Regions from separate parts of the Homo sapiens genome. Here region 1 is linked to region 2. The links are contacts of gene promoters, found by promoter capture Hi-C in human tissues and cell types (Jung and others, 2019). All regions are on one chromosome and are shown on one strand. Each heading gives the region's core, a stretch centred on a gene start or on the middle of the fragment in contact. The rest is flanking DNA. Distances are from core to core; before and after follow the strand shown.

Region 1 (7,026 bases), core at 4,224-6,723, 200 kb before region 2:
TCCCCCTCACCCCCTGCCCATGGAAAAAATGTCTTCCATGAAACCAGTCCCTGGTGCCAAAAAAGTGGACTGCTGCCCTAAAGGGCACCAAAGGCTCCCAGCTCCACCCTTCCTGTGCAGAGGTCCAGGGCCTCCTCCCTGGGTGGGGGCAGTGAGTCACCCCGAACACAGCCCAGGGCACCCTGGAAGAAGGTACCCTTCCTGTGCAGAGGTTCTTTCCATGTCCCACCCAGGGAGGAGGGTGTCTGCCCAGGGGGTTTGGACCGTCCTGTCCTTCAACTGTCAATAAGCTCCAAATGCGACTGCCCGGTACCTTGGCAGCGCCCTGTCCCCTGGACTTCTCCACAGTGTGGAGCTTCCCCAGCTGCCGCCCTGCTGCAGGTCAGGATAATTCAGAGGCAGCTCCTTCCTCCCTGCCACAGGGGAGAGGCTTGGGACTGGAAACACACACACACACACACACACACACACACACACACACACACACTCAGCTGTCACCCACCACTCACGAGGGGCTGGGCACAGGTCTCCTCTGGGTTCCCACAGCCCTGGCTGCTTCCACTGCAGTGCTCCAGCCCGGTGCTGTTGGCTGCCTCACATACCTACTACTCCACTGGACTGTGAGCTCCTTTAGGAAGAGAACTTGGCTTCATTCTGTCTGCACCCTCATCCTAGCCTGTATACGGTAGGTGCTTAATAAATGTTTCATCATTGGGTGGACAGATAGAACCTGGGAAAAGTAGATGTTTTAGATTGACGAGTGCATTCATTCAGAAAACATTTATTAGGCTCCTGCTGTGTGCCAGGTGTGGCTCTAGGCCAGGAGAAAACAGAAGTGAACAGGGAAGTGCCCTGTCCCCTTCTCACTTGCTCCCCAGGTCCTCACCTTCTCTCAGCAGACCCAGCATCGGACTCCTGGCTGGTCCTCCTACCTCCTTCAGGTTCTTCTTGCAGCTACCAGGGAGACCCGCTGATCACCCAGGCTTCCCTTGGCTTCCCTCTGGCTACAGGGTCAGCACGAATGCTGAAATTAGGTGCTGGTGCCCATCTATGGGCTGTCATTGCTGCCTGGGCACCTTGTTCCCACCTCTGCAGCTTTGCGCCAGCTTCCCCTCACAGCAACCTGCTTGCCTGTCCCAGCGCGTCCGTGCTCTCCCCGGCCTCTGCACCTTCCCATATGCTGTTCCTGACACCTGGCTGTCACATCCTTCTTGGGAGGGGCCTGGATCGCTTGCCTGCTGCAGGCAAAGCCTTCTCTGCTTGTTGCTCCAGGCCCCTCCCTTCCACGCACTGCTCAGCCCCCAGCGATGGCACTAAAATGGAAACTGGATCTGGTTGCTCCCTGCTTCTCACCCTTCGACGCTTCCTGTTACACTGAAAGAGAAACCCCCGCCGGCCTCACTGCCCCCACCTCCACCCCGCTACCACCACCCACGTCTGTGCTCCTGGAAGGAACTCTTCTCCCCGCACCTCAGAGCCTTTGCACACTGTCTGGACCTCTCTTCCCACCCTCTGCCTGGTCAACCTCCTCCCCTTCTGGGACCTGCTTAAAGGCCGATCTTTAATGAGGCCTTCTTTGGCCTTCATCTCCTCCCACTCTGGGTTGGTGGCCTCCTGTTGATCTGTATGATGGTTTGGGTCTTGTCCATTTCTTCTCAAAGGCCAGGGGCCTCAGCATGGGCCACATCATGGAGTCACCCAGAAGCTTTAAACAAGAACCAGTGCAGGAGCCTCAACCCAAACCTATTAACCCTGAGGGCCTGGGCAGCGACATCCTGTCCTGACAGCCACCTGCCTGCACCCAGAGGGCCTTGCTGGCTGCTGCAGCTGTCCCACGTTCTCACGGTCCCATTCAGCTGCCTCTTGTCTTTATCCATTTGGTTCCCACTCAACCAGAATTGCACACTTTGTCAGCTGCTTAAAATCATCATTGGAGTGTGAGAGGGAAAAGAGAAAATGAGAGAGAAAGAAGGCATCAAAGAAACGAAGTGAAAGAAGGTGAATGACAAAGGAAAAGGAGAGGGAATAGGATAGGGAAAGGAAGAGACAGAAATTCAAAGTGAAAGCAGGAAGAGAGAGAAGTCGAAGGAAGAGGAAGGACTAGATAAATAGAAAAAGGGAGAGGCTGGGTAGGCAGCGTGGAGACCACTCCGTAGCGCAGAAGGTAGAAATGGTTACTGGTGGTATATTTTTTGGATTGTTATCATACCCAGGCTGACTTCAATGCAATTCAAAAAATGCTCGCTGAGCATCTACTATGTGGCAGGCCCTGTTCTGGAGCTGGTGACACGGCCACGTATAAACATACCTAGATCCCTGCCTCGAGGAAGTGACATCCAGCGGACACAACCTAGAAGACAACGCTGTACTGAAACATTGCCCATTGTCTAGTTTACCCCTTCATGTCACAACCGATGAAGGCAGTACTCAGAGAGGGTGAGTCACTTGTCCAAGGTCACACAGTAAGTCGACAGGAGCACAGGAGCAGAGCTCAGGTTTCTAAACCTGATCTGGAACTTTCTGCCTCCCTGCCTGCTCTATCAGTCCATCCTACATTTCAACCCTCAAGAAAACATTTGCCTGTAACTTAATCTGGACTCAGCTTTCATGTGCAATTATAAGCAAAAAGAAGAAAATGAGAAATATCAGGATATCCGGGCATAAACATGAATGTGTTAGAGGCCCTTCTGGGCTTTTTTCTATGCCTAGACATTTTCCTATGCATAGACATTGCGAAAGTTCTATTTATACAAAATGTAAATTTTTACTTTGTGAATTTTGCATTTAATGATATAGAAGGATCATTTCTCTACAGGATCTTCTGCAGTGTGGTTTTTATAGCTAACTAATATTCTCTGCTATAAGGGAGAGGAAAAAAGGGAGATAGTTCCAGATCAAATCAATTCCCTCTTATTGGACAGTTGGGTTGTTACGAATTTTTACCAACTATAAGCAGAGCTGAGATAAACATGACTGTACATGACTCTTCTGCACCTCCAATCACTTTTTGGATATATTTGTGGAAGTCAAATGGCTGAGACTCAGGCATAAACCTTTTTTAAAGGCATTTAATACTTACTGCTTGACAGCCCTTCCAAAGGGATATGTTCATTTATACTCCTGATAGCTCAAACACCACACGGCTGCAGGCCCTTTTAACCTTTGACAGATGTACAGAAGAAAACGGGATCCTGAGATTTTTCTCACTGGCGTTATTTTTTAACTAATGGAGCTGTCCATATTTTTTTATTAAGACCACTGGCCATTTTGTACTTCCTTTTACATTATTTGCATGTTCATCCCTTTTGCCTATTTTATTTTTCGACATTATTGACACTGCTTTTTTTTTAAAAGCTCTTGCTTGCTGCTGGAGAGAGAAACAAATGTGTAATACCCTGCTCTGCACAAAAGCAAGCAGTGAGCAAGGCTGCCTGCAATTCACCCAGCAACAAAGAGATTCACGTAGCTGCCACCAGGGGTCACTCTACGCACACTGCCAGGGCATAGAGGCTGGCGGGATCATCCAGTCACTCCTGAAGCCCCTGACGTGGGATCGTGATCTCAGCTCTGGGATGACAGTGGACAAGGACTTTTTAAGAGCCTGGCTTTTCATCTCTCTGCACGAGCATCTCTGGGACCCTCCAGGCCAGGCACAGCCCTGTGCTGCCCTCTGCCGTAGCATCACTGTAGTGTCATGGTTTGCACCTGTGTCTGTCTCCTCTATAAGCTTTTGGAGGGCAAGGTTCATGCCTGGCTCACTGCACCTGGGACATGGCAGGTGCCCAGTGCACACTCATGGGAAAGCATTCAGACCCATCTGCAGATAAACCACGTTTGTCTTGCCAAATATGAATGGTTCTTACTTCCTTTTACCCTGAGCAGAAACCCTGTCCCCAAACTCCTCCCCACATCAGGGTTTGTCCTTGCAGTGGTCCGTTCCTCTGGGGATCAAGGTTCCAAGTAACTTGCTCTAAAACATGTGACCTCGGGAGGAAGCATATGACCCCAGGCAAGTTACGGGAATCCTCCAGACTACAGGTTTGTGGATAGGGCACTGCCCCGGCTACCTTGCAGAGTTCATGAGTTCCTGTTTAGGAAAGTGCTTTGTGAATATGAAGCAAAGGAAACACACTTTTATAATGACTGCCTTTGCCATAGTTCACACCATGGCTCCCAGAGCACATCAGACATAGCCAAGGGGTCACTGCAGGTGGGGCCAAGCCTGTGCCTCCTTTCAGATACTGCTGCTTCCACTTCCTTGGGCAAGTGACTTTACCTCCCTTCCTCAGTGTTCTCCTCTGCAAAATGAGAATCCATAACTCTACCACCTCATAAGCTTGTTGTGGGGAACGCAACACATTACCACGCTGGGCAGGCAATAAGCACTCCAAAAGTTGATGAAAGTCGGCTTTCGTGATGATTTTCTATCTGTGGTACACATCTCTGGGACTAGACCCTCCCCACCATTTCCCCATTTCTATGCCTCACTTCCCAGCATTGCCACTGTGAAGCAGTCCCTTCAGCCAGAAGCTTCCTTTTCCCGTGGGCAGTGGAGCAAATAACTTCACCGATGCCTCAAGGCACTCACTCATCAAGCATTTCACAGCTGGTGGCCAGGGACTGGGAATAGAGCTAAAGTGAACCAGTTTTTGATGATGAGGGGCACACAGCTGAGGGAGTGGGCATCTGGGCACAGTGAACATCAGGGCCACCAGAGGTGGCTCATGTCACCTCGGGGGCACTGAGCTGACGTGAGATCAGGGAAGTCTTCCAGAGAAAGCAACATTCCCAACAAATAAAGAGAAAGTAGCAAGGCTTTCCAACAGCCTGAGTGGGGGTGGGCACTAGAAGCTTCCAGACACAGGCAAGGCTTACAAGGCAGAAGAGCCTGGCACACTCAGGGACCTGCAGCTCAGTGTGACTAAGGTGGCATATGGGGGACTGAGCTTGAAGGAGCAGAACACCGGGGGCCTTGAATGCCGTGGATAGGAGGTTGAACTTGATCCTGAGGCCGTGGGCAGCCATGGTGGGGTGCTTATGGAGGGAGATCCTTTGACAGTCACCACTGTTGTCCAGAGCAAGGTGCTGAAGACCTGCGTGTGGCTCTCGGTCCTCCTGGGTCACTCCCAGTCCTTTGAAGATGCACTGGCAGCCTTGGGCAGTCACACAGCATGCGATGCTCTCTGGACTCTGCGACTTCACAGATGTGCAGAGGCCTGGAAGCCACAGCCATGGCCACTGAGGCTCATGCAATTTCCACCAAGACATGAAGAGCCGCATCTGGCTTTGCAGTTCCTTATCGATGGGTTCTAACACTTTAATTTATAAATTCCAGGCTGCATTCAACCTGAGAGCTGGTGGCTGGCTAGCTCTTCACATTTCCCAGTGGCCCTCTCAGGAGGAATTCTTCCTTTCCAGGCAGCCCTTTTTGACCTCAAGATGCTGTTTGTGGGCCATCAGCTTCCTTCTGAGAGATGGACAGAGACTGGCAGCCTTGTCACATGCTGCAGCCTGGGTCCAGCCCCCACTGCAACACCAGGGTCCTCCCCCAGTGACCCACGGACTCCACAGGGCTCATTTCCTTGCCTTTCCTCTGCCCCTACCTCCTTCACCCAATCTGTTTTGTCATCCTGTGGGGCAGGGTCTTGTCTCACTCCCCAGCCCCTGTACTGAGCTCAGACTGGAGCCAAGCACACGCACCAAGTGGGTACCATCAAATCCTGACTGTTGACCTGTTGACCAGTATTTACTGAAGAAACAGGGCGTGCGACACAGCTATGGGATCAGCTCACCAAAGGGCAAATCCTGGTCCCACCATATTACCGTCTGAATTTTCATGTCCCCCCAAAACTCATCCGTTAAAACCCATATCCCCAAAGGGATGTTATTAGGAAGCGGTGCTGAGTCCCCTCCAAGGGCAACCCATCGGTAAGTGGCAGGAGAGCCCACCTCCACCGGAAGTTAGAGCAAGTGATACCAGAAACACAAAAGCCATGATAAAATGGATACACACACACAGCCAAAGCAAGCCTCTTGCTAGTCGAAATTCTCCTAACCTGGTTTTTCAAGGGCCATGGTTTTAGACTGCTGGAAGGCAGAATCAGTGATTACCCAATGACATTTTTTTCTTTTATTTTTTGAGACAGAGTCTCGTTCTGCCAGGCTGGAGTGCAATGGCGCGATCTCAGCTCACTGCAACCTCTGCCCCCAAGAGTTCAAGCGATTCTCCTGCCTCAGCCTCCCGAGTAGCTGGGATTACAGGCGCATGCCACCATGCCCAGATAATTTTTGTATTTTTAGTAGAGACAGGGTTTCACCATGTTGGACAGGCTGGTCACTTTAGGTCAGGAGTTCGTGTTCCATGATATTTTATGCTGAGAATGTTATCCAGCGTTTGTTCAGCGGGTTCCTGCAATCACGGTCTCTTGGGTTCTTCCCTCTGACACCACCAGGGAGACAATTACCGCTATTTCTCATCCAGTAGAAATCCACAGGGGAGATGGCATGTCCCAAGAAACTAGTGTCCTAAACGAGCCAAGAAGCCAGATCATCTGCTTGCCGCCTCACAGGGCTGAAAAGGGGCCTCAACCCACACAGGCTCTGATAACAGAGAGTCAGTGCTATCTTCCCTCCTTCCTCCTTTTACTTAATAAATATTCACCCAGCACCTCTTCTGTGCCAAGGACTGTGCTAGTGCTGGGAATGCAGCAGAAAATAAAGAGGACAGTGCCTGTCTTGCAAGATGCATGTTTTGGCTGAAGTAAATGAATGAATAAATAAATGTATAGCATGTCAGTGTGCCTGCGGCACTCAGCAAACACCGGGAAGGCAGAGCACACCCAGCCCCAGCCCTGCCCTTGGGAGGCTCAGCCCAGCACTGACAGCCATGCATGTGAGGGCCCTGGGAGGACAAAAGAGGCTCCTGGGGTCAGGGAATACCTGGAGGAGGAGAAGAGACCATAAGCCGTCATCTGCCACATAACTTTGTGGAGTGGGTTGAATTGTGCCTTCCCAAAAGAAATAGTA
Region 2 (7,129 bases), core at 64-2,563:
AGAGCCGGGCAGAGGCTGGCGGAGAGCCGAGGCTGGCCCAGCCTTCAGGAGACCGGCGAGCTGGGGTGTGTGGGAGCGGGATGCTTCTAAGGCGAAAAGAAGCGCCAGCCTCGTAAGCGGCCTCTATCTGGGCTGCCCAGGCCGGATGCTCAGGAGCCCACAGCAGGGGGGATGGAGCGAAGGACCGAGGGGCTGGGAGGCGAGGCCGCAGCGCACTGACGCAGGCCAGCGAGGCCGCTGGCCCCGACGCAGGGCGCCCGGCAAGGTGTCTGGCACCACGAGAGTCAATCCTTGCGCGCCATCTCCGGAGGCCAGTGCGCCCAGGGCGCGCCGGCCCGGCAGGAGGGTGGGTGCCAGCCTTTCTTCCCATCTCTCGAGCCTCCTCCCCGGCGCCCACGTGGGCGGAGCAGCGCGAGGGTGTGCGTGGCAGGGGCCGCGGCGGCGTGTGCCGTGCGTGGGGTGGGGTGCGGGCTGGGCGGCCTCGCCTTCGGGCCCCGCGCCGCCGGGGCGCGGCCCCCAGCTCCATCTTCTTTGCCACCTGGGCGGAGATCTGGGGGACTGTGACCTACCCTGCGGAAGACACGGAGGGGACGGGCCGGCCACACCCCCCGCGCCACTCCGGCAGGCACCGGGTGGGTCCCCCTCCCGCTCCTTGGCTTGAGGGCGGAATCCGGAGAAGAGTGGAAATAGGGGTGGCGTGAAGGAGAGCTGGGGGCTGGGGGCGGGACCGGGAGGGGGTGTTGGGGGAAGCGACGCAGCGGCTGGGAGATTTTGCAAGGGGGTCTGAAGAGGAGTGGGGGATGGGTATGGAAGGGTGGGGGACCACTGAGGTGGGATGCGAGAGTGGAAGGGGGACCCAGAGGGGGCGCGATGGCCGGAGGAGGGGGAGATGGACGATGGGGCGGGGCGGCACCGGTCGCCGCGTCCCTTGCCGCCAGGTCCGCCCCTCGGTCGCCGGGTCCACGGGTTCCCTCTGGCCAGCGCTCGCCTCCCGCCCCCCGGCGCACCTGTACCCACCTGCTCGGCGCTCAGGCCCGAGCCGGGCAGCAGCAGCGGACGTAGCGAGCGCAGCCCCGCGCCGCATCCTCCGGCCGCCCCCTCCCCGCTGCGAGCTTACGCCGCTGTCGCCGCCGCCACCGCCTTAAAAAGGACAAAACGGAACAGAAAATGAATGCATGCACAAAAAAAATCGTAAAAAGCAATTGAGGAGGATGGCAGTCGCGCGCGCGGCTCGGCGGGGCGGGAGTCGAGAGGCCGCGGCACTGGTGGCCGCGATCCGGGCAGGCGGCCGGCGCGTGCCGCACGCGGGTGGCTGCAGCTCCCTCGGTCGCCCGCGCCCGGCTCAGGCACGGCACCGCCCCTCCCCCCGGGGAGCCCCTCCGATTGGTCTGTCTTCCTGCCAGTCAGGCAGGAGGGCGCGGCGCCCGCCCCGCCCCGCCCCCGCCCCCGCCCCGGGCAGATGCCGGGAGCTCTCCTGCCGCCGTGGGAGGGGGAGCTGAGCTGCCGGAGCGTGCGCACTGGGCCAGCGGGCGGCCGGGGCAGGGCTGGGGTCCCGGCGCTGAGCGCCCCCAGCCGCGCCGGGCAGCCTGGCGCCTCGCTGAGTCGGAGCAACCCCCGGCAGGAGCTTTCAGGCTCTGGTCAAGCCTCGGGACCCGGGAAGCTATCCCTGCCCTCGGGGGCTCGAGCCTGGAGTGGGGCTTGCAGGTAAAGCGGGGCTGGGGCCGTCCTGGCCGTCAGTGGTCAGGAAGACGCAGCGACCCCGGAGATCCATGTCCCCCTCTGTACGCATGAGAGGTCTGAAGGTCAGAGGTTAAAGCGCACGCTAACGGCGGCAGAGCCAGCAAGCGGCAGAGCTGGGCGGATGCCAGCCTAGGGAGCCTCCCCCCACCAGCCCAGGCTGCCCCCAGCAAAGCCACATCAGCAGGTCATAGCCAAATGAAAGATGTGCTGTCGAGCTGAGACTTGGGAGGGGCAGGACTCAGCTGGGCAAACATTCATTCAGTGTCATTAGACAAATATTTATTGAGCACTTGCTGTGTGCCAGGTAGTCACTAAGATGTGGGGACACCACAGTGAACAGCAGAGAGGAAGCGGCTGCCCACCAGAGCTTACTTTCTAGCAAGGAGAAGGCAGGGAAGAGCACCCACCAAAGGGAGCAGCATGGGGGAACACCCTGACTGCTGTGAACGGGACATATTTGAGAATCTGATAAAAGTATCTGGGCCACAGAATGGTGAGAGGGAGTGTGTGGAAGATGGGGGGCGGGGGCACAGAGGGGCAGCACTTGCAAGGTCTTGCAGGCTGGCGAGAGTTTGGAGACTGTCTCACCTGGAAGGTGGTCCCATGGACCATTGTCAGATTGATATTTTTTAAAGTGCATCAGTCAGGATAAGCTATGTTAGCCACAGTAACAACCAAACCCAAATCTCCCTGGTGTGTCTTGCCCACATCATACATCCTGCCTCGGTCAATGGGGCTCTGTTCATCAGAGTGGTTGGGAGCCCAAGCTGCTGGGGCTGTCTGCCAGCCGAGCACCCACATGGTGCAGCAATGTGAATGAAAGGTGACAATTATGCTGGCTTTGAAGGCTTCCTCCCCGAAGGGACTCTCGTCACTTCTGCTCACGTTTCATTGGCCAGAGCAGGTCACATGGCCATGCCTAACTTCAGAAGAGGAGGAAGTGCAGACCTCTAAGGTTCAGGGGGTCAGGAGGAACTAGGATATCTGTGAGCAGATGTGAGACTATCTTTAGCAGATGCCCTGGCTGCCCTTGGGGCATGGGCTGAAGTAGTCAAGAGTGGGGACAAGGAGGCAGTGTGGGGGCCTCCTCCACGCTGATACAGTGAAGTATCAGCGCATCAGAGCAATCTGGGTGCAGAATTGGCAGGACATGCTCACGGCTTGGACGTGGACAGGAGGGAGGGAGGGACAATCAGGGACAATGCCCAGGTATCCTGGGATGAATTGTGTTCCCCCCACCCACCCCCTCAAAAAAAAAAACTCGTATGTTGAAGTGCTCACTCCCAGGACCTCAGAATATGACCTTACTTGGAAATAGGGTCGTTGTAGATGTAATTAGCTAAGATGAGGTCACAATGGAGTAGGTTGGATTCCTAATCCAGTCTGCCTTCTATCCTTATAAAAGGGGGAAATTGGATACAGAGACACAAGCAACGGGAGCATGCCGTGTGAACATGAAGGTAGAGATCAGGTCGAGGCATCAGCTAGCCAAGGAAATGCCAAAGATGGGAGCAAACCCCCGGAAGCCATGAGAGCGGCCTGGGACAGATCCTTCCCCAGGGCTTCATAGGGAGCGTGGACCAGCTGACACCTGATTTCAGACTTCTAGCTTACAGAAGTGAGACAGTGCATTTCTGTTGTTTAAAAAGCCCAGCTGGTGGTACTTCGATACATGTGTGTAGATTAAGGGTTATGTCTGGCTGTGAGTAATCGGGATCACAACTAGACAGCGGCTTAAACAGATTTTTATTCTCTCTTAACAAGAAATGCAAAGGCAAGCTGTTCCTCACTTTATCCTCTCTCACTCCTTCACCCTCAGGATGTAATTTTCTTTTTCAAAATGTCTTCTACGTGGCAAGTTGGCTGCCTCTTCCCAGACATCTCATCACTATTCCAGTCAAGAAGGGGAAGAACAAAAGGCATACCCACACTAGGTCAGCTCCACTTCACCGCTTTCCTGAAAACTCTCCCCAGAGAGCTCTGTTTTATCTCATTGGCTGGGACGGTGTCTCATGGCCAGCCCTGGCTTCAGAGGAGGCTGGGAGTATTGTTATTATTTTTTAAGATGGTGTCTTGCTCTGTTGTCCAGTTTGGAGTGCAATGGCGTGATCTTGGCTCATTGCAACCTCCGCCTCCCGGGTTCAAGTGATTCTCCTGCCTCAGCCTCTCAAGTAGCTGGGATTACAGGCCCACACCACCACACCCAGCTAATTTTTGTATTTTTAGTAGAGATGGAGTTTTGCCATGTTGGCCAAGCTGGTCTCAAACTGCAGACCTCAGGTGATCCACCCACCTTGGCCTCCCAAAATGCTGGAATTACAGGTGTGAGCCACCACGCCCGGCCAAGGATGTTTTTTTTTAATTGAAGGTACATTGCTGCCTGAAACAAAGTCAGGGTTCCATTAGTGAGGAAAAGAAGAAGAATGACTTTTGAACAGGCAACTATTGGTTAGTAGATCCAGGTTTTGTAAAACCTGGAGCCGCTACAGTCCCCCTTAGGAAGAAGAATTTAAAAACCCCAGTACAAGACTTGGTACAAAAATGAAAACTTATTTAGAATAATAACAAATCACAACAAATTTTAAAATATTTTAAGTTGACAAATATCAAAAACGTTGCGAAAACATTATAAAACTAATATAAAATTGTATTAATTGGATACCTGATATCCACCTTTATAATATCTTCTTTTTTTTACATTTTTTGCTTCTTCGTCATTTTTGATTACCTCTTTGGAAGCCAATGATTTTATAATATTTTTCCTGTGGAGAAAATAGATAATTCAGAGTACTCCTATAATGATGGGAACAAATTTTAATGTTGGTTGGAAAACTTTGTCAGCCTCATAACTCATTATTGGTAATCTCAGGTAGTTTTTTGAGATTGTTTTCAAATTTGGAGAAAGGTCTATCATTCTTTCATAAATGAATGCTAACACTTGGAAGAATTCTATTTCTTCCAGGCTTCTTACTGGGATTTTATTAATTTTCATGATGAAAAGCAACTGAACAATTGCAAACCAGAACATGACTCGACTAACACCTCCTAAACCTCAGTGCTGGCGCCCATCACCTGGAGAGGCATAGGAGAAATGCAGATGCCCAGGCTCCTCCACATCCCACTGAATTGAAGCCTCAGAGTAGCAGGGTCTAGGAATCAGCATTTTACTAAATGCCCCAGGTGACTCCTGCTGAGCAGTCCTGGGCTATGCGACACCCCCAGTTGCCTTGTGACTCTGAGGGTCTGCAAATCCAGACCTCTCCTATTGGAAGAATGACATTTTCAACCCTTATGTCTCTTCCTCTGCCCATAGACTCCTGGTGCCAGGCACCATAGCACACATTGCCAGTGCCATGGCAAGGAGGGCACTCCTGGGAGCCATTAGCCTGTTCAGGGAGCAACAACTCGACCCACACAGACTGGCTCAGACCTACATAAACACACCCCACTAAACCCAAACCAAGGCATCCCCAACTCAATCCCCCTTCAGCTACATCCCCAAAATGCCCTTGGCCTCCGCAGCAGCTCCGAAGTGGGAGGAAGCATGATGAGGGCGGCATAGGGAAAGAGACAGAGGGTATTATGGGTTGGATTGTGTCCTCCAGAACTTGAGTGCTGAAGCCCTAACCCCCAGGAGCTCAGAATGTGACTGTATTTGGTGATAGGACCTTTAAAGAGGTCACTGAGCTTAAATGAGGTCTTTAGGGTGGGACCTAATGCAATATGCCTGGTGTCCTTATAAGAAGAGATTAAGACACAGAAGGAAGCCCCTGTGGAGACACAGTGAGAAGATGGCCATCTGCAAGCCAAGGAGAGGGGACTTGGAGGAAACCAACACCTTGGTCTCAGACTTGAAGCCTCCTGAACTGTGAAAAATAAGTTTCTGTTGTTAAAGCTCTTCAGTCTGTGGAACCCTGTCTTGGAAACCCTGGCAGCCAGCTTAGCCAGTTACAGCTAAAATATCTTGCTTTTGGAAAGTATTTCCAAACACAAGGCCACATGAACCCAGAGCTCTGGCTCTCCCAGGCCTTGGAAGGGTCTGTACTTAGCTTCACAAGGAATTCACCCCCGCTGCCACCACGTGGTCACTACATAACCCTCAGGACGACCTATGGGGCAGGGGGTCAGGTACCACCAAGATCTCCCTATTAGGGACGAGAGGTTGGGGCCCAGGGGCTCACTCACAGCAAGCAGCATGGAAGCCACGAGTCTTCCGAAGCCAAAGCTGCTTTCCCCGCCCCGTGTGCCCTGAGCCCACAAGTGGTAGGGAGGAAGTGCCCTGAGCCCTGGAAGTGGTAGAGAGGCAGGTTTCAGCTCCCTATAAAGACAAACATTCTCATCAGAGGGGCTCCTCTCTGGGAAGCTGTGAGCACCCAACACCTGTGATGGGCTGGTCACTTGCAAAGATGGTGGAAAGAAACTTCAGTTCCTGCTGCTCTTGCAGAGTAGAGTGTGGTCACCACCACCACTGCAGGGCTGGGCTGCTGGGATTAAATTCCAGCTGTGTCAGGTACCCATGGTGACCTTAGGCAAGTAAGTGAACCTTTAGTTTCCTTATCTGTAAGATTAATCTTTTAATCATAATAACTGCATAGGTTTGGGTGGGGATTCAGTGAGTGAATATATGTGACTCTGGGTTTGTTTCCTGGGCTGCCCTAATACAGTATCACAGACTGGGAGGCCTGAAACAACAGACATTTATTTTCTCACAGTTATGCCTGGCCAGAGTCCACAGTCAGGGTGTTGGCAGGGCTGTGCTTCCCCTAGAGGCTCTAGGAGAGGATCCTTCTTGGCCTCTTCCAGCTCCCGGTGGCTCCAGGACTTCCTTGGCTTGCGGCCGCATCACTCCAGTCTCTGCCTCTGTATTACACGGCTTCCTCCTCTTTGTGTGAGTGTCTTTTATAAGGATGTCATTGGATGGAGGACTCACCCAGATAACCCAGGAGGATCTCTTCTCAAGCTCCCTAACTTAATCATACCTGCAAAGACTCTTTTTCCAAATGAGTTCCCATATCACAGTTTCCAGGATGTGGACATACCTTTAGTTATTATGAATTATATGGTTATTTATCTACAGCTGTGATAATTCTAAAGGAGGAAGAGAAGTTGGTAGGAGACCATGTAACATGGAGATTGGCTTGGTCTGAGGGGCAGAGTCTTCCTTGAGGTGGTTAGCTTGAGTATTAGCTAGCTAGAAGAAGAGGAACAGAAACAATGTCCCAGGGCCAGTGAACAGCAGCATGAAGGCCCAGAGTTAGGATTTGACCTTCCACTTGAAAGGGAGCCACTGGGGGCTCTTGGGGCAGGGCGAGAGTGGCAGGATTAAAGGAGGCCTGTGAGCACGTGTGGAAGAGCAGCCTGACCTCACCAGCCCCGTGGAAGATCCCAC

The links. Contacts are between HindIII fragments. The study calls those that stand out against the background at their distance.
Region 1: a fragment that was not itself captured here is called in contact with the fragment with the promoter of JAKMIP1 in region 2 in 2 of the 25 tissues and cell types used here (dorsolateral prefrontal cortex and mesendoderm cells).

What each region holds. Positions count from the first base shown.
Region 1 is chr4:5,995,032-6,002,057 of GRCh38, forward strand. All of the region lies in intron 3 of C4orf50 (chromosome 4 open reading frame 50), which reads right to left. Among named protein-coding and RNA genes, the nearest start is that of C4orf50, 20 kb to the right of the region's middle. The HindIII fragment of the contact is 5,514 bases long and covers 2,717-7,026 here.
Region 2 is chr4:6,199,236-6,206,364 of GRCh38, forward strand. JAKMIP1 (janus kinase and microtubule interacting protein 1) reads right to left here and starts at 1,314. Exons shown (of 21, transcript NM_001099433.2): 1 at 1,018-1,314. JAKMIP1-DT (JAKMIP1 divergent transcript) reads left to right here and starts at 1,498. Exons shown (of 4, transcript NR_037863.1): 1 at 1,498-1,704. RefSeq lists silencers at 350-699, 970-1,729 and enhancers at 2,832-2,881, 6,632-6,701. The HindIII fragment of the contact is 28,205 bases long and covers 1-7,129 here.